Regions from separate parts of the Homo sapiens genome. Here region 1 is linked to region 2. Evidence: promoter capture Hi-C in human tissues and cell types (Jung and others, 2019). All regions are on one chromosome and are shown on one strand. The core of a region is centred on a gene start or on the middle of the fragment in contact, and the rest is flanking DNA. Distances in the headings are between cores, read along the strand shown.

Evidence for each region. Contacts are between HindIII fragments. The study calls those that stand out against the background at their distance.
Region 1: the fragment with the promoter of KRTAP9-7 here is called in contact with a fragment that was not itself captured in region 2 in 2 of the 25 tissues and cell types used here (IMR-90 fibroblasts and pancreas).

The regions. Positions count from the first base shown.
Region 1 is chr17:41,274,230-41,277,209 of GRCh38, reverse strand. KRTAP9-7 (keratin associated protein 9-7) reads right to left here and starts at 1,512. Exons shown (of 1, transcript NM_001277332.1): 1 at 1,003-1,512. The coding sequence starts at 1,512. The coding sequence ends at 1,003. The HindIII fragment of the contact is 10,836 bases long and covers 1-2,980 here.
Region 2 is chr17:41,214,021-41,217,196 of GRCh38, reverse strand. No RefSeq gene overlaps it. Among named protein-coding and RNA genes, the nearest start is that of KRTAP9-2, 11 kb to the left of the region's middle. The HindIII fragment of the contact is 7,634 bases long and covers 1-3,176 here.

The sequences.
Region 1 (2,980 bases), core at 263-2,762, 60 kb before region 2:
CACCACCCAACGACTATCCCAGTCAGCGGCTTTTCTCTCTTTCTGGAATCTTCAGAGCATTCCAGATATACAGTCTCAAAAGATGGCATCTGTATTTTTTAAGGAATAACTTAAGTTCATTTTGCCTTGCCAATATGTATTCAGGAGAAGAAGGAAGCCATATAAGAATGGAAATGTTATCTGCAAATGTTACCTGCAAATACAGGAGATTACTCCTCCATTGTTGAGTCAACTTAAGTGCATGTCTTGCGAATGTAGAGTCCCAATGTAATTTTTACTTTAATGAGAGTTAAATATAAGTGCTCTTGGACAGAAAGAGAAGACCCAACCTTAAATCTGAGTCTGCATTTTTAGCTAAATAACATCACACATTAAAATTTTCCTCAGCTGGAAAGTAGAGGTAATAAAACATGACCATCTGTTTTTATAATCAAATTAGGTAACATGTATGGTATGGAATATGTGTGTAAATCCCATATCAGGAATGCTGTAAAATAAAAAAAAACACCATGTGAGATGAAGGACAGCTTTGAGTTTATTAAGAAACATATAGGTAAGAGTCCCTGTTTCTAGGGAGATAACCCAAAATGATCATGAAAGGAATAAGGATAAAAGAACCACGAGGAGGACACTGAAAATGAAAACATGATTGTGAAGATTATTGATCAGTTGCAAAACCTAAGTTTCTTAGAGAAAGGGAATGAAGCTCTTGACTTTAGAGTCAAGCTGAGACCATGACTCCAAATTGAAAATACATGAAGGTGGCACATGATCCACAAGGTGTAAGGAAAAAAGAATCAGGATGAAGTACTCTACCCTCACTCAAGCTGATTCACAAAATGTTAAACATGCAGAGAAGTCATAAAAATTAGGGTGAGCAAAGTTCACCCTAAGTTCACTTTGTTGGTTTTCATCACAGTTTGAAAGTAAATTTGTCCCCCAGAAGGTAAATCTTTTGCCAGAGGGTTACTGTATGGGGATGATGGTCCTCTGCGGAACTGATCAGCAGCAAGCAGGCTGACAGCAGCTGGTCACACAGGTGGGCTGGAAGCAAGTGGTCCTGCAGCAGGTAGTCTCACAGCAGGCTGGGCGGCAGCACGGCTGGCAGCAGCTGGAGCCACAGCTCTGGTTTAGGCAACCAGGCAGGTAGACACTCGTGGGGTGGTAGCAGGTTCTCCTGCAGTAGATGGGTGCACAGGAGCTGGGCTGGCAGCAGCTGGACCCACAGCTGGTTTGGCCACAGCAGCTGGACCCACAGCAGATGGGCTGGCAGCAGGGTGTGCTGCAGCAGGAAGGCTGGCAGCAGCTGGTCACACAGGTGGGCTGGCAGCAGGTGGTCCTGCAGCAGGTGTTTTGACAGCAAGTTGGGTGGCAGCAAGGCTGGCAGCAGCTGGACACACAGCAGGAGGGCTGGCAGCAGGGTGTGCTGCTGCAGGTGGTCACAGTGGTGGGCTTCCAGCAGGTGGTCCTGCAGCAGGTAGGCTGACAGCAAGGGGAGCAACAGTGGGTCATGGTGTCAGGGGTGGAGGGTGGACTTCTGTTCAGAGGTGAATTTCCCAGGATCTGATGACCCCTTGCCCTCTGGACCTTTTATACAACTGGCCTCCAAAGTTTCCACCAATCAGCAGGACTTTTCCTTGTTGCTGTTTATGTTGTTTTCCACAGTCATTTTGGTATTGTCAAAGGGGAAGTTGTTTTCTAAAGGTTATAAATCTTTTGAAAGTAAGGGTTTAATCTGTTGCTTAATTGTGGATTACTCATAGAAACTATTTCAGATAAAAGGAAGCCCGTCTCATCATCAGCATTGTTCCTGCTCTGACCATCTTCTGGTGATGTGATAGTTCCTGGTGACCAGGGAGGCTCAGGAAGTTCTCTCTACCCAGCCTCATTCTTTGGTTGTATGTAGGTTGGCAAGTGTCTGTGGGGAGAATCATGATTCTGATATGGTCACAAAGACAAAATGAATCCATGCCTATGTTCAAGACTGTTCACCCACCAAAATCTGTTTCAAGACTAACAGGCATCTCTCTCTGTACAACCCACACCACCTGTGTCTTTCACCTCCATCAAAGTCACTTGGGAAAAGGGTGATTGGTACAGTGTGTTCTATGTGTCAGAGCAGAACCAGAGCAGGTGGGTACGAGGAGAAGTCCAGTGGGATTTAGATAGCATCAGGCAATCTTTGCCCTGGGTTGACCATTCATTCTGATTTGTCTGGGAGAGAGGGGCTTACCATAATGAAAATGTGGGACTTTGTGTAACATAAGTGCTTTAGACTCAGGCAAGCCAGCATGAGCTGTGGCTCTAGCCCTAACTCTGGTAGTAGCATAGTCAGTGCCATTTCTTTTCTCTATCTTTCTCCATTTCTTTTTAATGAAGAAATTAGATGAGTTGAGATGATAGCTGATTCGTCTTGGAGTTCTAACATATTAAAACATTTTTTAGGTATACCATTCATTTCAGAAGAATGCAAATTATTAATTTCCAACTTGTTATAACTTTGTAAATAAAGCTATGTCCCCATTACCAGGTTAGGAAATAGAAATTAATCCCATTCCCTTTAAATTATATTCCTTTACTCATCCCAAAAAACCACTAATCACTCTATCAAGTTGCAACCCTGTAGGTCAATTTGGCTATTCCTTTTTTACTTCGTGTGAATAAAAATTATAATATTTGCTTCTCTATTTCTTTTGCATAATCAGAGGTAATAATTATTGCCTAGTCATTTTGCACTCTTCATGTCAGCAGATCAGAAGGCAGAGAAAAGAGTTCCTTTTTGGTGAGGGGTAATTATCCTGTTTTCATGGCATGTAGGAGAATGTATCTGTAGCTCAGGAGATTTACTGAACATACTAATTTACTAGCACTGCTGTGATAAACCACTACAAACCAAGTGGCTTAAATTTATATTCTTGCAGTTCTGAAGGCTAGCAGTCTGGATTTAAGGTGTTGCCAAGGTTGTTTTCACCTGAGGACT
Region 2 (3,176 bases), core at 127-2,626:
CTTTTCTTGTGCTGGTTTTTCCTCATCTTCTTGGATTTATCCACCTTTGGTCTTTGATATTGGTAACCTTTGGATTGGGTTTTTGCGTGGGCATCCTTTTTGTTGATATTGATGCTGTTGCTTTCTGTTTGTTAGTTTTCCTTCTAACAGTCAGGCCCCTCTTCTGCAGGTCTGCTGGAGTTTGCTGAAGGTCCACTCCAGACCCTGTTTGCCTGGGTATTGCTGCCTGCTCCTTCCTCTGGAAGCTTTGTCCCAGGGGGCACCTGCCAGATGCCAGCCGGAGCTCTCCGCTATGAGGTGTCTGTTGACCCCTGCTGGGAGGAGTCAGGAGGCATGTGGGTCAGAGACCCACCTGAGGAGGCAGTCTGTCCCTTAGCAGAGCTTGAGCGCTGTGCTGGGAGAACAGTCGATCTCTTCAGAGCCCGCAGGCAGGAACGTTTGAGTCTGCTGCTGAAGCTGTGCCCACAGCTGCCCCACCCCACAGGTGCTCTGTCCCAGGGAGATGGGAGTTTTATCTGTAAGCCCCTGAATGGGGCTGCTGCCTTTCTTTCAGAGATGACCTCCCGAGACAGGAGGAATATAGAGCGGCAGTCTGGCCACAGTGGCTTTGCTGTGCTGAGGTGGTTCCGCACCCAGTTCGAAATTCCCGGCAACTTTGTTTACACTGTGAGGGGAAAACTGCCTACTCAAGCTTTGGCAGTGGTGGGCGCCCCTCCCCGCACCAAGCTCGAGTGTCCCAGGTCGACTTCAGACTGCTGTGCTGCCAGCGAGAATTTCAAGCCAGTGAATTTTAGCTTGTTGGGTGCCTTGGGGGTGGGATCTGCTGAACAAGACCACTCGGCTCCCTGGCTTCAGCCCCTTTCCAGGGTAGTGAACAGTTTTGTGCCGCTGGCATTCCAGGCACCACTAGGATATGAAAACAACAACAACAACAACAAAGCAAAACAAAAACACAAAACTCCTACAGCTAGCTTGGTGTTTGCCCAAACAGCCACCCAGTTTTGTGCTTGAAGCCCAGGGCCGTGGTGGTGTAGGCACCCGAGGGAATCTCCTGGTCTGTGAGTTGTGAAGACCATAGAAAAGCATAGTAGCTGGACCAGATAGCACCATCCCCAGAAATACCATTTGATTCAGCAATCCCTTTACTGGATATATACCCAAAGGAATAGAAATCATTCTATCATAAAGATACATGCATGCATATGTTCACTGCAGCACTACTCACAATAGCAAAGACATGGAACCAACCCAAATGCCCATCAAGAGTAGACTGGATAAAGAAAATATGATACATGTACACAATGGAATACTATGCAGCCATAAAAAGGAACTGGATCATGTCCTTTGTAGGGACATGGATGGAGCTAGAAGCTGTTATTCTCAGCAAACTAACACAGGAACAGAAAACCAAAATGACATGTTTTCATTTATAAGTGGGAGCTGAATGATGGGAACACATGGACAAACGTTGGGGTGGGAGAACAACACATACTGGGGCCTGTTGCAGGCAATGAGAGGGAGGGCATCAGGAAGAACAGTTAATGGGTTCTGGGCTTAATACTTGGGTGATGGGTTGATCTGTGTAGCAAACCACCATGGCACATTTACCTATGTAACAAACCTGCACATCCTGCACACGTATCCCAGAACTTAAAATAAAAGTTGATAAAATAAAAAATAAATAATTTAAAAAATTTTTTAAAATTTCTGGAGACAGATGATGGTTGTCTAACAACATGAGTGTACTTACTTCCACTGAACTGTATATGTAAAAATGATTATAATTGTGGTTGGGCACGGTGGCTCACACCTGTAATCCCAACACTTTGAGAGGCTGAGGCAGGTGGATCACGAGGTAAGGTATTTGAGACCAATCTGGCCAACATAGTGAAACCCCATCTCTACTAAAACTACAAAAAATTAACCAGGCATGGTGGCACATGCCTGTAGTCCCAGCTACTCGGGAGGCTGAGGCAGGAGGATCGCTCGAACCTGGAAGGCGGAGGTTGCAGTGAGCTGAGAACGTGCCACTGCACTCCAGCCTGGGTGACAGAGCAAAATTCCATCTCAAAAATAAATAAATAAATAAAGATTATAATTGTAAATTTTATGTGTATTTTACCACAATAAAAAAACAGTAAGCCAGGAATAAAAAGTTTTGATGTGAAAACAAATTATCTCTCAAAGTTTGGGTGCAAATGAAATGTGGCCTAAGTTTTTTGGGCCATGACTTAATCTTCTATTACCATTTATTTAGGTGACCAGAAGAATGAGGACAAACAGAATGCCAATTCCATTATTTCAACAAACAAGTATTTCTAGATGAGCCTCTCACACCAAAGTCCCAGGACAGAGGCAGGAACACAATGGGTGCTCAAAAATATTTAAAGAACTTCACCAGTGCCTGACAAGAGACTGAGAATATAAAATGTTCACATGATTCACGAGGGCTCTTAAAACGAGTTGTTGCTCTTAAGATGTGGCTATTGGTTAGGGGAATGAATTTGGAAAGAACTTTGTTAGTAGAAAATGGTCTGCAAATGCGTGGAATTGGTGTTTCCATTGTCAGAGAACAACTTCGAGTGCACCCCTTCCCGGTTCTAAGTCCTTAGTATAATTCTGTAAATGTGACATCAGTAGAGGTGAAATCAGAAACCCTGAGCCTAGAGCCAATTCTGTCCATCCTTAGCTACATGACACGATGCAGGCCACTTTACTCATCTTGGTTCTGTCCAAGTTTGAGGCTTCTATGTGACTTAGATGAGATAATATATGTGAGATGCAAAACAATCACTGAAACAAAACAAAACACAACACAGGAGGCACTATAGTAAACGCTTTATTAGGAAATAAATAAAGCAATGCTCCTTTCTGCTAAGAAGATAATACAGAGTTGTCATGGAAAGTCACAAAAGTGAGTATTAATTTGAAACAAAATGATATTTATCATTGTAAAGATCTAATAAGGGCCGGGTGTGGTGGCTCATGGCTGTAATCCCAACACTTTGGGAGGCCGAGGTGGGCAGATCTCCTGAGGTCAGGAGTTTGAGACCAGCCTGGCCAACATGGTGAAACCCCGTCTCTACTAAAAATACAAAAAATTAGTCAGATGTGGTGGCAGGAACCTGTAATCCCAGCTACTTGGGAGGCTGAGGCAGGAGAATCACTTGAACCTG